Linked DNA regions of Homo sapiens: all the other regions are linked to region 6. Evidence: promoter capture Hi-C in 16 types of primary human blood cells and fetal thymus (Javierre and others, 2016). All regions are on one chromosome and are shown on one strand. The core of a region is centred on a gene start or on the middle of the fragment in contact, and the rest is flanking DNA. Distances in the headings are between cores, read along the strand shown. Region 1 overlaps HEXA (hexosaminidase subunit alpha). Region 2 overlaps NEO1 (neogenin 1). Region 3 has its middle 2.6 kb from the start of NEO1. Region 4 overlaps PARP6 (poly(ADP-ribose) polymerase family member 6). Region 5 overlaps NEO1 (neogenin 1). Region 6 holds the start of HIGD2B (HIG1 hypoxia inducible domain family member 2B).

Region 1 (2,700 bases), core at 25-2,524, 310 kb before region 6:
TACCCACATACACCTTGATCAAGTTTAGCTTCTTGGACTCAGTACTATACAGGGATACTAGAAAAGTATCATGCTTTAGGTAATAAATGGTGGCTCACACCTGTAATCTCAGCACTCGGGGAGGCCGAGACAAGAGGATCGCTTGAAGCCAGGGGTTCAAGACCAGCCTGGGCAACACAGTAAGACCCCCATCTCTACAAAATGCAAAAAATAAAAAAATTAGCTGGGTGCGGTGGCATGCGTCTGTAGTCCTAGCTACTCATCAGTGAGGCGGGAAGACTGCTTGAGTCCTGGAGTTCGAGGTTGCTGTAAGCCGTGATCACACCACTGCACTCCAGTCTGAATGACAGAGAAAGACCTGTTTCTTAAAAAAAAAAAGAAAGAAAAGAAAAGAAAAAAACAGGGCTGTGAGAAGAGAGGCTGGTGGAAGACTGCAGGCCAAGCTAATCTAGGCCCTGGGATTCAAAATGAAATATGACACTTATTTTGCCCTTCAACTAAAAACTGTGCTTCTGCCATCACCTTCTTTCTAAAGACAATTTATTCATCACTGTATTTCTCCTATGTATCCCTCGTTCTCCAGAAACCCCTTCATGAGAAAAAGTAATTCTACTACAAAACCTTCTTCCCGTGTTGTTTTCTTCCTCTTTGCTTTTAAAACAATAAACTTAGTGGCAATCATCTTTGGCAGGAATATGCCTTGTCTTTGCCGTGGGAAAGGTTAAAGTATAGTTAGCCGCTAGCCCAATTAAAGTGGAGAGAACTAATCGGCCTTATTCTTTCTCCCCAGCCCAGCTGCTTGACCTTATCTGTTTCCCTCCTAGATGCAATCCCAATGCATCTCTCACTGCATGCTGAGTTAAGAGCAGCACGAGTTGGGATCACACAATAAGCAGCATAGTGTGATTATCCTTTGCCTGGAATCACACACTTACACTCCAAATTGGTAACCTGAAAGGAAAGGTAATCCTCAATGAAAACCTGCAAATCATATCTTTTTGATGATCTTCTCAGACCTGTAATCCCAACACTTTGGGTGGCTGAAGCAGGCAGAGTGGTTGAGCCCAGGGGTTCGAGACCAGCTGGGGCAACATGGTGGTACTCCATCTCTACAAAAATTAGCTATGCACCTGTAGTCCCAGCTACTCAAGAGGCTGAGATGGGAGGACAGCTTGAGCCTCGGAGGTCGAGGCTGCAGTGGGCTGTGTTTGTGCCACTGCACTCCAGACTGGGTGACAAAATAAGACCCTGTCTCTAAAAGAAAAAAAAAAAAAAAAAAAAAAGAAAACAAAACCCAAACCCATAAAGCCTTCTTACAAATGTTTACACAAAGTAGCTCTTTAACGTTAATATATTTTACAAATAATTACTACATATCTACAACGTTCCAGATACAGAAGAAATGGCCAAAGAAGGTATTTTAGGAGATCCAGATTATAATGAACTATGCCATTTATTAATTTAGTCACTTCTTTAATATCTGAGGATGAGCAAATCAAATACTGATAATGGCTGCAGAAGGACACAGGCTCTTATATAATAATCTTACTTCCATTCCAGAATAAAAGGGCTGGAGAAGGGGGGCAGGATTATTCTGTTGAAGGACAATGGCATCCTCAGCAACTCACAGGGATGTGCAGGTGAACATCAGACCAGGATGGGAACCTTATAATATCTATGATATACTATGGCTTCTATCAACCAGTTTCAGGAAAAGCAAAGAAGAATGCAGTCATGGCCAGGTGCAGTGGCTCACACCTGTAATCTTGAGGTGGGCAGATCACATGAGGCCAGGAGTTCGAGACCAGTCTGGCCAACGTGGTGAAACCCCATCGCTACTAAACCCCGTCTCTACTAAAAAATAAAAAATTAGCCAGGCATGGTGGTGGGTGCCTGAATTCCCAGCTACTTGGGAGGCTGAGGCAGGATAATCACTTGAACCCAGGAGGTGGAGGTTGCAGTGAGTCAAAATCACACCACTGCATTCCAGCCTGGGCAACAGAGCAAGACTCCATCTCAAAAAAAAAAAAAAAATGCAGTCTAATGGCAGAATTAGACTTAGCCACTTTACTTGGAAAAATTTGGACTTTATCAGCTCCATCAAGCACCATGCTCCACACCATGCTTATTAAATGTCTGGAGCAACATTAGATGGGTGCCATTCCAAATTCCAAATAATCACATCTTTGCTTTGCAAACAGGATGTGGCTTAATAATCAAACAGGGAACTAGATTCATTCAAGTATCTAGTTCCTAAAATAAGTCTATTTAACAGGTTCAACAACATGCAACACACACCCTCCAATTGGTAGAAACACCTCTCAATGACAAAGAAAGGTGGCAAATACTAAACACCTTCACAGACCATTTAGCAACTGGTGGGACTAACCCTTGAAGGTGAATTCAAAATAGAACTGAACCTCAATACCAGACTTCTTTTTCAGAAAAGGGAGTATGAATTCTTAGTTTCAGGTTCAGACAAAAACCAGAAGTTGTATTGCATTAGGAAAAACACTGGGCTGGTCAGGTGGCTCATTCCACCCTGTAATCCCAGGACTTTGGTAGGCCAAAGCAGGGGGATCACTTGAGCTCAGGAATTGGAGACCAGCTTGGGCAACATGGCGAAACCCCATCTACAGAAAATACAAAAATTAGCCAGGTGTGGTGGCATGCTCCTGTGGTCCCAGCTACTCAGGAGGC
Region 2 (2,700 bases), core at 18-2,517, 390 kb after region 6:
GTGTGTGTGCTTGTCAGAATTTGTGAATCATAGAATTGTTTTAACTGGAAGAAGACCCCCAAGATCATCTGCTTCAACCCCTTCCTTCCTCTCTTTTCCAGAGAGGTTGCACTTTACTTGAGCTGTGACTAGGATTATGCCACATTCTTTTGTAAGTTGTAACCTATTTTTGTCTGTTTTGAATTTCCTTTTTTTGCTAAGCTTTAGCACAAAGTTCACCAGGTTTTGAATGAATGTCTCATATTTGCAATAATTTAGGGAACAGTTGAGCATGGAAGGAGAGAATAGAAATATGGGGAGGGAGATCGTGAAATGATGTTTCCAGTGGAATTAATAGAAGTACAAAGGACCAAGAATTAAGGTGCGGCTCAGATCTCCCTTTTGTCTGCTTTTGGTTTGTGATGGTATAACATTGCCTGCAAACAGCCACGATGAATATTTTCATTTTTATTAATAGCAATATGGGGGCATGAATAGATTCTGTGATATTTTTAGATACGCAGAGACTGTGAAGAAAATGACATTTAGTATATAATTTTTACCCTGCTCTTAAGGTGTTTGTAATCTAGTTGAGAGGTCCTACCTTCAAAAGGTTTACGATCTGATTGGAGACTGAAGGACCTAAAGAAGTTAAGTAACAATGTCATATCTCTGTCCTTTCTGCTAAATGAATGCTACTTACTATTTTTCCAGTGCCTAGAAGAGTGCCAGGCCCATAGTTGATTTTCAGTAAGTATTGGTTGTATAGATAAATAGAAGGTACTGACAGTAAGCATGAGAGGACCTCTGAGTGGTGTGGCATTTGGAGAAGGCCTGGGATCTTGTACAGTGCAAAGCTTAAGTAACTTCATTCTAAGTTTGTATTTCCAACTCCCCCAACCTCAGCATGTTCTCCCCACCCACCTCCTCACACCCCAAAGCAGTCCCTGTCTTTTGTTAACTGATTTTTTTCTTTGGAAGCAAGCCTGATCTTTCTCACATTTATTTTGCTACTGCTCAGGCTACCTTCTTTTCTTATCTCTACCTTTCCTCTTTCTCACAACATTGCTGTTCCTCTTCAAGGATTTAGAAGGATCATGTTTTGGTTTATAAGACAACTGTGTTTTCTTAGGTCCTTCTTCTCTCCAGGGATTATTGTAGGAGGTAAGGCACTTTCTGTGGAAGAACTGAGTTATCAGAAAAAGTTCAGAAACATATTCTATGATTATTTAGAGGAAAACTGTAGGATAGTGATATCTTATAATAACATAGCAATTTTTTTAAATTAATTAATTTATTTATTTTGAGACAGAGTCTCTCTCTCTGGCACAGGCTGGAGTGTAGTGACATGATCTCAGCTCCCCAGAACCTCTGCCTCTCAGGTTCTAGTGATTCTCCTGCCTCAGCCTCCCGAGTAGCTGGGATTACAGGTGCCCGCCACCACGCCTGGCTAATTTTTGTATTTCTAGTAGAGATGGGGTTTTGCCATGTTGGCCAGGCTGGTCTTGAACTCCTGACCTCAGGTGATCCACTCACCTCGGCCTCCCAAAGTGCTGGGATAACAGGCATGAGCCACCGTTTTCAGGTTGTCATAACTACATTCTAATTGACTGCATATTTTTAAACACAAATTAAACTAGTTATGTTCTCCACCCTACTCAGTTTTGGCAGTATAAAGGCCTGTTTCACAGAGAAGAACACATAAACAAGTAAGTACAAGGAAGCTTGTGTGAATGAAGTTCTGCTGTACAGCTCAGTGACTTTCTCTGATTTAAGATGTAGCTCTTGGCAATTTCAAATAGTTTGTGTTCTCTGAAGGAGAAGTCCAGTCTATTTAACTGTGTTTAGCAAAAACTAATTATGATTCTCTGATGGGAAATAGATTCTCAGACTCATTTATTCATTCAACAAGCATTTATTGAGCAGCTATGTATGAGGCACTGTGCTAGGTAACGGGAGAAATAAGTTACCAGTCTAACAAATGGCATATCATACGTAAAAATAATACTGCTGAGGAGAAGGTGATATATGCTGTAAAAGGGGTGCAGAGTGCTTTGGGTTTTCTAAAAATGAGAAGGTTACTTCCATGAAGCAACTCAGTGTAAGCTTTATGGGATGATAGAATTTGATAGATCTTGAAGGCTGGGTACATGGTTCCTCTGTCCATTGCGCAGGATGTTGGCCCTGGCTTAGCAGTGGAGACAGACCTATGGCGATGGGAAGCGGGAGAGGAAGTATAATGAGCAAACATCCAGAAGTGGGAAAGCATTGGTGATATGGGCAACAGAAAGTAATTTACTTGGAGGTTTAGGGTGGTGATGTGAAGTGGCACAAGAAAGGGATAGAAAAGAAGCGTCCTTGATCTGACAGTGGTGTATACTGTGAATTGGAAGAGTGGGTTCAGTCTAGGCTGTTTACCCAAGTTGGTGTTTCATGGACCATTGTTCTTCTAATCTAGTAGTTTAATAGTTTTATATTAGGGGAGGGGAAAGTGTTCCCTGTTCAAGTAAGCTAGAGAATCCCTGCAGGAGAAGCAGGGAGAAGGATATTGACAATGTAGAATGCTTTCTGTGATATACTGTATTCAGTTGTGTTGCCGTATTAAACACAGTGGATGTTTGAATGTTCTGTAGATTTTTATCACCTGAAATTTGTTGGTTTTCATGCTGATGTCTTCAAGGATGATTCAGGAGGAGCAGTATAGGTGGCTGGTCTAGTTTC
Region 3 (2,700 bases), core at 96-2,595, 360 kb after region 6:
TATTTTCAGAAGCACCTTATACTCAGGCATATGTAGTGTATGCTGATGACTCACTTCTCCAGTCCTATCTCCCTGCTAAACTCCAGATCCAAGTAATGAACGGCTTACTGATATTTCTACTCAGATGTATTTAAAGTACCTATGTATGCATAGGTACTTTAAATTTCCTTGTCCAAAGTTAAACTAACATTGTCTCCCATCTGCTCATCTTTCTCATTCCCCCCTCAGTGAATGCCACCACCTTCATTCAGCTTCCCAAGTTGAAATCTGAGTTACCCACATCTCCTATCTCTCCCACACACCCCTGCTGTTTCTATCTATCTCCTAAATCTCTCTCTTATCTGTTCACTTTTCTTAATCCCCTTTGCTTTACTCCAGGCCACCATCATCTCCTCCCTAGACTATTGTAACAAAATCTGAACTGTTTTTTTTTTTTTTTGGTCTCGACTTCTTCCAAACTACACTCCAAGAAGCAGCCTCAGTGTTCCCTCTAAAACGCAAATCTGAGGTCAAATCCCACCTGTAGGCGTGGCTGACTCCTATCTACCTTCAGGTCTCTGTTTAGAGGCCAAAGCTTCTCTAATTCTCCTTCTCCCACCCCCACACACAATTTAGTCAAGTTAGATGCTCTTACTAAGTTTTCCCACACTCCTTATCTTTCCTTACCATAACAGTCTTTACACTTCTTTGTTATAATTGTTTACCCTTTCTGCTAGACTGGGAACTTTGTTTATCTGGCTCATCACTGTCTTCCCTTAACATAAGCCAGGACCAGAGACACAGGATGTACTTTATAAATATTAAATGAATGAACCAATAATTTTGTTATCCCAGCATCCAGCACAATACTTGGTGAAAACAGGTCCTCAATAATTTTTGCTGAATTAATAGATTGTTGTTGAACTAAAGATATGTGATCAACTAAGCAACATGTGACAAGCAAAATTAATATTGAGCATGCTTGTACTTAAAAAGGAGCACACATCCTTTTTAATTACGCTTAATCAGAGATGGCTCCCTAGAGCAGGTGGCTTCTGAAGGAGAACGGGAGAAAATAAAAATTCTTACCTAGTGGAATGTAAAGGGCAAATATAAAAATAACAATCTCTGTGCAGAAGAAAATCACTTTCTTAAGACTGGGGCAACTTCTAGTTGAAGTCTGCTGTGACTAGGAAGTGTTCTATCCTGAGATCTGCTAGTCAGGGGACTAGCTTTCTTCTTCTCAACCTCGGACACTGGGATTCAGCCAGGGAATCAGCTGCAGAATCTCATTACTGCCAGCAGTTAAACACTGAATTGTACGTCCTTTCTAATGTTGAAAAAAAAATCCTTTTACTATAGAGAATAAGATTCCTACCAAGTTTTATATTCATAGGCTTTAATATTTCATGTAATTTTTATATCAAAATACATTAGCATAAATTTCACAAGATATCAGTCTAGTTATTTTTGGCCTGCATTTCGATAACTTTTACAGACACACAATGGCCACTCTGTTTTCTTTGCTCTAAAGTTTCTTTGTGCACTTATTCCTTGAACATGGGCCTCATGTTCTAACTTTACTTAGATGAAAAAACTGTTAATTTCACCAGTGGTTTAATATCTCTTCATAGATTGATAGTTTAGACAACATAAAAGTGTTGATTAGCAGTATACGTGCAGGCTGAAGTATTTGTTGAAAATCTTGTTGGGAGAATAAGAATGATAAAAGAGATGCCTAAGAAAATCTTTTCTCAGATATGCTTTACTAAACAAAGAACAGGTTAATTACTCAATGATGATTTTTAAAGGGCATGTCGACAGTGTCAGTGACTTTGAAACAAAGTAAAGGAGCTGAATTCAAGTGTGTGCCTGAGTTACTTAACTATCTTGAACTGATTTAGGATCTGTAGCTTTAATCTGGGGCTCCATCTACTAGTGGTTTAATAGAGTGGGTTTTATTAAAATTGTGATTTAATCAGAAGCCAGAAATATACAACTGTTTTAAACTTTTTGATATTAACCTGATATACACAGTGGGCTGATAAATTAGTGAGACAGTTCATATAAGTCATATATGAAAATCAGTCTGTTATTAGCCACAACTCATGTATTTTTCAAAACTTGGAGATAAATGTAAGCTTCATCTCAGAAGTCATATTACACGTTATAGGTTTAATATAATGAAATTTTTCCAGACTTAGAAAAGATATCAGGAAATTAACATTTGCAAGGCAATTTACAGTTTTCAAAGAGCTTTTCTCATTAATTATCTCAGAAAACTGAATAATGATGTGATTATTAAAGGTTAATTAAGCAAATACTTGTGAAGTAATTGGGAGGTAATCTATTTCTAATTTAACAGGTCAATCACGGGTATTTAGGAAATATTTTTGCTGGTTAACAACTCTAACCAAAACAAAAAGGTATTTAAATGGTTTCCCTAGTGAAAAACCATAAGCATGTGTTTCCTCTATTAAGTCAATTGTTTCAAAGAACTAGCATGAGAATTCCTAATTTCACCGTTTTGATGATTTAAGGTTTTATGAAGATTCTGAGCTCTTCCCTCCCGACGTTAATCCATGTCTTACATTGTTCATTTTGGCGCTTTAGAATAAAATATCTTTGGAAAGTAACTATGAGAAAGCACAGAGGGATATGTTAGTGAAATAGCCATTTTCTTGTGGGAAGCAAGACATTTCGGTTATCGACTACACAGAA
Region 4 (2,700 bases), core at 57-2,556, 420 kb before region 6:
CATCGAGGAAGCTGATGTTGATGTGGAGGTCAATGTCCACGTCATCGATAGTTCCATATTCTCTATAGAGATACAGGTGACAACAGGTGAGACTCATTAAGGGAGAAAGAAGGGAATAGAAACTGAGTTGGAAAGAGAACTGAGCCTGGGGACAGGGGAAAGGGAAGAGTGGATGACAGTTTTGTACCTAGGGTCTTAGCTATAGCCTTACACCACTTACCTGATCAGGATCTACTTCCAGGCCAAAAGCATTTCTTACCTGAAAGGTGAAACTACTGGCCCAGAGGGGTCTAGGATAAGAGGGAATTCCTAAGAAAAGTGGCCTTACTCTCTACTCTCAGCCAAGCTCATTTATTCTGAGCATTTTCTATCATTAAGTTCATAATTTATCCCACTATCATACCATAAAAAGAAAAACCTCTAGCCTTTTAACAACTCAGAAAGAAGTGACTTGCTCCCCTGCCACCCCTGAAGTAGAGTCCCACCTGATGGATACAGAGTTCTCACTGTAGATCTCCTTCACGGCTTCAATGTCTGCATCAAGCTGTGGGTGTCGATACAGGTCAGCTGCACAGCTCCCCTGAGATAGCAGCAAAAATGGTGGTGGAGAGAGGTGGAAAAAGACGAGGGAAAGAGAGAGATAATAAAAAGAATATGAAAAGACACCAGGAACAGGAGAAATCAGACAGCAGTATAGGGGAAGTAAAAGCCACTTATGTGAAGGGGTTCTCAGTGGTGACCCTAGCAAGGGATTTCATTAACAGAGGTCTCCATCTCATCATGACTTTAAAAAGGTTCAGCAGACCAAATGTAGGCTTTTGCTTGGAGTTCACTTCCTTAAATCTCCAGCTTTTCTCTCAGACCTTGACCAGGATACCTTCTATGACAACTCAGAACAGGCTGAAGAGTTACAGGTTTCCTAAGATTGGTTCTAAGTGAAGAGCATTCTGAGAGTCTGGGTACTTCTGCTCAGGACTGTGCCCTGGGTAGTGATGGCATTAAGCAAACGCTGGCAGAGTAATCTTTTAAGATGTGACCCTAATGAATGAAACTACCCCCACTGGCTAGTGTTATAAAAGTCAGAAAATAATTATGTCTAATTAAGATATGGGTAGTCTCCACATACAGAGGATGTAGTTTACTCTGGAACAGGTATGACTCCAAAGAAAGAGCAAGGGCACGGGATCAGCTCTGACAAGACCATGCTCAGACCACATCAACATTATAACCTCATCTCATCTGTGCTCCAGAACCTCTTTCACTCCTGATGTATCCAAAAAGCAGCACATATCTAGACCATCCAACACGGGGGTCTTGGGAGATGTAACCTCACCTGAACGCCATAGAGAAATTCCTCTGATTCATTATCTCCCTCCGAGTCGTCATCATTCCAGAACTGGCCTTTGATGTCCTAGTGGTGAGAAATAAGGATATCATGCTTTGTTAGGTCCCTATTATCCCATGGAAAGGCGTGGGATGATATGGTGAGGAACAGATTCCCACAAAGATTGGGAAATATAGAATAACTGAAGCCCTGATCCCTTTACACCTTTCATGTCACCCTTTGTGAGAGTCTCAGTCTCTTCCTGATATGATCATATCCATAAACTAGCTCTTAGTGGGACAGAGGAAAACATCTAGGGAATTTTGGCCTTCTGAAGTCTCAGTATGATGACTGAGAGGCTCTGGTAGCCAGTAGGAAAGAAATGCAAATGACTTCAATGTCAAGGTTGACTCCTAAGCATATCTGGGTTCCAGTACAAGCTGGCCTCTTCCAGGATCATTACCTAAGACAGTTCCCAAGCACACCTAAACTCTCTTGTCTCATTATTTTCTTTCTATCCTTTAAAGTACTTAACTCTCCTCTCCCTCCCCAAGAAAACCCACTACACAAACACACCAAGTAATACTGTTTCTGTGCCCCTTCCCTTTCCTTTAACTTCAAATAGCCACTCTATCTTCCAAAAGGGTAGAAGGGAAAATACCAAGAAAGGGTGAGATCTGCACTTTGTCTCCTCTACCCTTTGAACAATCAGTTGGAGAGGTGGGCAGTCAGTTCTCACCATTGGGTCAGTGGGTCACACACACTCTCAGGTCAGTGCTAGGCAGCACCCCTCCATACCACTAGCCGAACCAAGGCCAACGAGATGGGCATTTAGGAGACCACAAAGGGAGACAAGGTAGGGCACGATGTCAGGGACAACTGGTGATCTGTTGGGGATGGCAGGCTCTGCTGTTGCGGTGGTAACAAGTCACTGTCCTGTGGAAAGTAGATAATAATGGGTTTCATCACCACTTAATAGCTGGGTGGTGTATATATACAGGCACACGTATTTATCAATACACTTTTTTTTTTTGAGACAGAGTTTCGCTCTTGTCGCCCAGGCTGGAGTGCAATGGCGCGATCTTGGCTCACTGCAACCTCCGCCTCCTGGGTTCAAGTAATTCTCATGCCTCAGCCTCCCAAGTAGCTGGAATTACAGGTGCCTGCTGCCACGCCCAGCTAATTTTAATATTTTCAGTAGAGATGGGGTTTCACCACATTGGCCAGGCTGGTCTCGAACTCCCGACTTCAGGTGACCTACCGGCCTCGGCCTCCCAAATTGCTGGGAATACAGGCGTGAGCCATTGCACCTGGCTATTAATACACTTTTATTATACATACAGATACTTGCATATAAAAAGACATGCTTGCGTGCA
Region 5 (2,700 bases), core at 45-2,544, 410 kb after region 6:
AGTACTGGTCAGGTATTTTATAGAATGTTTCTCTGTTAGGATTTGTCTGATGTTTTTCTCAGGATTAGACTGGGGCTTATGGTTTTGGAAGGATGACCACAGAGGTAAAGTGCCATCACACCATTTCAAGGCATTGATACATAATATCAACATGATGTATCACTATTAACATTGACCTTGATCACCTGGCTGAGATTGTGTTTGTCAAGTTCTCCCTGGTAAAGTCACCTACCTTTTTCCATACTGTACTCTTTTGAGAAGAAAGTCACCATGGGCAGCCTGCACTTCAGGAGTGGGGAATTATGTTCTCCCTCGTAGAGGGTGGTGTTTCTATGTGAATTATTTGGAATTCTTCTGCATGGGGTATTTGTCTTTTTTCTCCATTTAAAAATCTTTCAACTGTATATTATGAACTCATGGGTATTTATTTTGTACTTTGGATTATAATCCAGTAATCCTTTATTTTGTTGCTTAAATTGTTTCAGCTTTGACCATGGGAAGTTCCTTTTTTTTTTTTTCTTTTTGGATACAAGGTCGTGCTCTGTCACCCAGGCTGGAGTGCAGTGACATGCTTACAGCTCACTGCAACCTCTGCCTCCCAGGCTCAGGTGATCCTCCCACCTCAACCTCCCAAGTAGCTGGGACCACAGGCGTGCACTACCAACCACGCCTGGCTAATTTTTTGTATTTTTTGTAGAGACAGGGTTTCGCCATGCTTCCCTGGCTGGTCTCGAACTCCTAAGCTCAAGCAATCCACCTGCCTTGGCCTCCCAGAGTGCTGGGATTATAGGCACGAGCCACTGTGCCTGGCCGGAAGCTCCTTAATTTGGCCCCGGTGTCTCATTGACATACCTCCATCATTGTGCTTTTTGTTTTGTTTTGTTTTTAGCACTTCCTTACCTTTGGGCACTACAACATGCTCCAGACTCATCATTTGTATTTCTTGCCTAATTTTAGAATTAACCATTCCTTCAAGGAGCCCTGGTTCCTTCTATAACTATTTTTTTTAATTGCGATATAACTCACATACTATATAATCCACCTATTTAAAATGTGCAACTCAGTAGCTTTTGATATATTCACAGATGTGCAGCCATTGCCGCAATCAATTTTAGAACATTTTCATCACCCCAAAAGAAATCTTATACCCCATAAGCAGTCTACTGTCCATTTCTCATGTTCCCCGGTCCTAGATAACACTCTTTTGATTTACCTATTCGGGATATTTCATGTAAATGAAGTCATATAATATGTGATCTTTTGTGCCTGGCAGCTTTTACTTAGCATGATGTTTTCAAGGTTCGTCCATGTTGTAGCTTGTATTAGTATTTCATTCCTTTTTATGGCCAAATAATAACTTCATTGTCTGGATATAATACATGTTATATAATCATTAGTTGAAGGACATTGGTTTATTTGCGTGTTTATACCTTTTGGCTATTATGAATAATGCTGCAATGTATATTCTATACAATAGCCTTTCTAAAGATTTTGTTGTTGTTTGAATTGGAATTAGTATCTACACAATTGATTGGTATACGTTTTAAGTTTCTTTTAAGTGATAATTATCCCCTCTTCACCTCCCTGTTTTCTTCTTTGTCATTTGTCCAGAAGAATTTCCACATGGTTGGGATATTGCTGGTTGCTTCCCCATGGTGTTTCTTACCATCTTCCTCTGTCTTTTTTATTTTTATTTTTGTTTCTTAATTGTTAGTTGGATCTAGAGATTTGATCATTTCAGGGTTTTGTTGGACTGCCACATAGGTGATGGTAATTTATTCTTTCATCAAGAGGTGTGTAATGTCTGTTTGGGTCTGTTTCTCTGTTGCTATTAGCTACCAGGGTTTAGAAAACCATAGCTAGGCTGGGCACGGTGGCTCACACCTATAAGCCCAGCACTTTGGGAGGCTGAGGCGGGCGGATCACGAGGTCAAGAGATTGAGACCATCCTGGCCAACATGGTGAAACCCCGTCTCTACTGAAAATACAGAAATTAGCCGGGCATGGTGGTGTGCACCTGAAGTTTCAGCTACTCAGGAGGCTAAGGCAGGAGAATTGCTTGAACCCAGGAGGCAGAGGTTGTAGTGAGCTGAGATTGTGCCACTGCACTCCAGCCTGGCGACAGAGTGAGACTCTGTCTTAAAAAAAAAAAAAAAACTTAACAGCTAATGGTCAGTTGTCTCTGGCTTGTTTTTTAAATAACCTATAAGCTAATGTTGATTTTTACATTTTGAAAGTGTTTTTAAAAAAGAATTAAAAAAATAAGCAAAGGAGAATTTGCGACAGCAACTGTGTGTAGCCTGAAAAGCCTAACATATTTTCTGTCTGGCCCTCTACAGAAAATATTTGCTGACTTCTGTACCGTTTACTTTTTATTGCCTAGAGCTGTTGATTCATTAGGAGTTGCAAAATAGTGATAATCTATCATTTTTTCATTTATTTGGTAGAGTACTTCTATAAACAGAAACTTTCACCAACAATTTTATTGCCACCAGGAACAGTTTGATGGGGAAAGATGTTTAATTTTTTTCCTCTTCCTTTTGAAAAGTTTTCAAGATGATTTGGTTCTATAGCATTCACGAAAGATGACCAATTAGTCTTTATTTGTTTTTTTTTTTTTGAGATTAAAGTAATGGAATTCAACAGATTTGACCATTTCAGTTGTTTTATTATCATTATTGAAGCCTAAATGTCCCATGG
Region 6 (2,700 bases), core at 93-2,592:
GAAATGCGATCTCGGCTCACTGCAACCTCTGCCGCTTGGGTTCAAGTGATTCTCCTGACTCAGCCTCCCGAGTAGCTGCGATTACAGGCGGGCACCACCATGCCCGACTAATTTTTTGTATTTTTAGTAGAGACGGGGTTTCACCATGCTGGCCAAGCTGGAAAATTTTATTTTTAATAAATGAAAGGCAGAGTATTTATCTGAAAAAAGTGGGAGACCAACAGTCTCATGGGATTGTTATAAAGATTAAAAGAGAGAGTGTTACTGAAATACTTAGAAGAGCTGTTATTCTATTGCTGTCCTTTCCCCTTGTATTTGGATAGATTACCGTACTTGTTTCTTCTATGTAACTCTAATTGTCAGTGGGGTTCTCCCTCTCTTAGAGGCCTGGAGAAACTTGTCTTAAATGCTTTCCCAGTTAATGAATTGGGAGAGGCAGATTTTATGTCTAAATTACAAGGGCGAGACTTAAAAGTATGAATTGGGGCTAATGTCAGTGCTCAGGTGCAGGGATCCTCCGTTTTGTTCATCACACAGCTCCCGGCACTTTAATAAATGAGGCTCAAAGAAACGACGGGCTTAGGTCATGCAGTAGTCAAATTCAGAACTCATGTTTGATTCCAAAGCCCACACGTTTTCCTAGTTTAGAAACACTAAACATTTAATTCACCGCACCGGGGGCCAGACAGGTAATGGAGAACGCCTTAAGTATGTTAGGAAGGGAAGTTATCTACAGTCGCAGCCGCTATTCAGATCTATTTCACTGCCTTGCAGAAAACGCCGACTGTCGTCTCTTTATCCCATGGCCGATTTCTTGTGAAATCTCCTAACTTTTAAATATTTCCAATCAAAAGACTGCCGTTCAAATGCAGCCCACCAGGAGCATGTTTGCAAACTCTGGAGTAAACAAGAGTGGGAAGCTGATAAGGTGAGTACCTCAGTTCGATAGTGACAGCCAAGAAACGGGGAGTTTTGTACCTAAGGCGAGAAAGAAATTCTCCGCCGAAATCTCCCGGAAGAAGGACTGAATTAAATGCAGATTAGAGTCAGGGCAGGGTAAGGTGGCGGGAGAACTAGGCTGCCATCCCAGGTGGCTGGCCTACCAGCCAGCGCGGCCGGAGGTACAGACCATGTACAGACCACGGCGAGGGGTGTTAGGGGCTTCTCGGGATAAAGGCAGCGAGTGGCTGCGCATTCCCTCCCCGACTCTTTCAGAGGTAAGCCTTCTGTGGAGCAGACCCTAATCCTCCCCCTGATTCCTTAGGTCACTCGGCGATTTACTTCCTTCCCCCGCTTCCTCACAGTCCTCCACAGCCCTACGACTTCCGCTTGCCTCGTCGTCTGGGAAACCGCCGACTTCCGGCCGCGCAGCGGTGGGCTGAGCTAAAATGGCTGAGGAGAGAGTCGCGACGGTGAGCGCCGAGATTCTCTTTAGTTGCCCGGCCGCAGGGCAAGGCAAGCTGGCGGGTGGCTTTTGTCCCATGCAGCGGTTCCTGGAGAGAGGCGGAGCTGGGTGCCGAGCGTCTCAGGGTGGGCGGGGCGACACGGTCCCCTTTTTACTGTCCCGGGAACTGGTCGCCTGGGGCAAGTCTGGATACTTAGCAGCACAGGTCCTGTTCTAGGACTGTAGTCCCTCTTGGGGTGCGCTGGACGGAGAAGGGAGACTTTTCACCAGTAATGGCTCTTACCGTAGTGCCATCTTTTTCTGTCTCGGGGGTTTGGAAGGTAATGACTAGCACTTGTGTAGACAGTTCCTGTTAATCCCGTGAATTGGGAATTTAACATGCCTGGAAGCTTGCAGCGTCACTGCCTTCTGCCAGTGGAGCGGGACTGTGTTTTTTCTGTGGTGATTAAGTTTAGGAAAGTACGGTTTTGGAATTCATCTGAAGGCTGAGTTGGGCGTTCACTCCACAGAACTGCTAATATAGAGGAACCCGATGAATTCAGGATGACCTAGTCGCTATTTTTTGAGGCATATATCTATAATTGGATCTAATTTCGGTAAAGTGCCAAGTGTGAAGCTTTGTTTACCTTGCTTTAGTGTTGGGTTTGAAAGCCTGTTCTGTCCATTTGTTAGAATGATTTTAGGTATTCGGAATTTATTGTCTTTCGAAAAACGCCCTGGAAAACAGTACAAATAGCAGCCTTTGGCTGTTTTACAACTTAGTTTTGGCTAAGCAGCAAGGTTAGTGTTATTGTTAGAGGGCCTTTTGTTTGTTTTCTACTCTCATTTGCAGAGTAGTCATATTATTCTAGTCTAATTAGAAAACTCTGAAGACAGAAACTTTTTTTTTTGAGACGGAGTGTCGCTGTTGTCGGCCCGGGCTGGAGTGCAATGGCGCGATCTCGGCTCACTGCAACCTCCGCCTCCCAGGTTCCAGCAATTCTCCTGCCTCAGCCTCCGGATTAGCTGAGAATACAGGCGCCTGCCACCACGCCCGGCCGAAACATTTTTATTAAGCTAAGAAATTTAAAATAGCTAGGCCGGACGCGGTGCATCACGCCTGTAATCCCAGCACTTTGGGAGGCCGAGACGGGTGGATCACTTGAGGTCATGAGTTTGAGACCATCCTGGCCAACATGGTGAAACCCCGTCTCTACTAAAAATACAAAAATTAGCGGGGCATCGTGGCGCTCGCCTGTAATCCCAGGTACCTGGAAGGCTGAGGCAGGAGAATCGCTTGAACCCCGGAGGCGGAG

What was found. Contacts are between HindIII fragments. The CHiCAGO score rates a contact against its expected background, and 5 or more counts as called.
Region 1: a contact is called between a fragment that was not itself captured here and the fragment with the promoter of HIGD2B in region 6, in 1 of 17 cell types (naive CD4 T cells). The highest score is 5.2, in naive CD4 T cells.
Region 2: a fragment that was not itself captured here is called in contact with the fragment with the promoter of HIGD2B in region 6 in 2 of 17 cell types (total CD4 T cells and naive CD8 T cells); the score reaches 6.0 in total CD4 T cells.
Region 3: a fragment that was not itself captured here is called in contact with the fragment with the promoter of HIGD2B in region 6 in 6 of 17 cell types (naive CD4 T cells, non-activated CD4 T cells, total CD8 T cells and 3 more); the score reaches 8.5 in naive CD4 T cells.
Region 4: a fragment that was not itself captured here is called in contact with the fragment with the promoter of HIGD2B in region 6 in 1 of 17 cell types (naive CD8 T cells); the score reaches 5.5 in naive CD8 T cells.
Region 5: a fragment that was not itself captured here is called in contact with the fragment with the promoter of HIGD2B in region 6 in 2 of 17 cell types (M2 macrophages and naive CD4 T cells); the score reaches 6.2 in M2 macrophages.

Annotation. Positions count from the first base shown.
Region 1 is chr15:72,370,331-72,373,030 of GRCh38, forward strand. The region is part of intron 1 of HEXA (hexosaminidase subunit alpha); the gene reads right to left. Among named protein-coding and RNA genes, the nearest start is that of HEXA, 4.3 kb to the right of the region's middle. The HindIII fragment of the contact is 4,935 bases long and covers 1-2,700 here.
Region 2 is chr15:73,075,778-73,078,477 of GRCh38, forward strand. The region is part of intron 1 of NEO1 (neogenin 1); the gene reads left to right. Among named protein-coding and RNA genes, the nearest start is that of NEO1, 25 kb to the left of the region's middle. The HindIII fragment of the contact is 867 bases long and covers 835-1,701 here.
Region 3 is chr15:73,048,509-73,051,208 of GRCh38, forward strand. No RefSeq gene overlaps it. Among named protein-coding and RNA genes, the nearest start is that of NEO1, 2.6 kb to the right of the region's middle. The HindIII fragment of the contact is 1,546 bases long and covers 573-2,118 here.
Region 4 is chr15:72,265,412-72,268,111 of GRCh38, forward strand. It overlaps PARP6 (poly(ADP-ribose) polymerase family member 6), which reads right to left. Exons shown (of 24, transcript NM_001323532.2): 3 at 2,064-2,260; 4 at 1,334-1,411; 5 at 486-580; 6 at 2-62. The coding sequence starts at 2,066. Among named protein-coding and RNA genes, the nearest start is that of PARP6, 5.8 kb to the right of the region's middle. The HindIII fragment of the contact is 4,663 bases long and covers 1-2,700 here.
Region 5 is chr15:73,093,067-73,095,766 of GRCh38, forward strand. The region is part of intron 1 of NEO1 (neogenin 1); the gene reads left to right. Among named protein-coding and RNA genes, the nearest start is that of NEO1, 42 kb to the left of the region's middle. The HindIII fragment of the contact is 3,259 bases long and covers 1-2,700 here.
Region 6 is chr15:72,684,840-72,687,539 of GRCh38, forward strand. HIGD2B (HIG1 hypoxia inducible domain family member 2B) reads right to left here and starts at 1,343. Exons shown (of 3, transcript NM_001350932.3): 1 at 979-1,343. It overlaps BBS4 (Bardet-Biedl syndrome 4), which reads left to right and starts at 1,368. Exons shown (of 16, transcript NM_033028.5): 1 at 1,368-1,412. The coding sequence starts at 1,389. The HindIII fragment of the contact is 12,662 bases long and covers 1-1,792 here.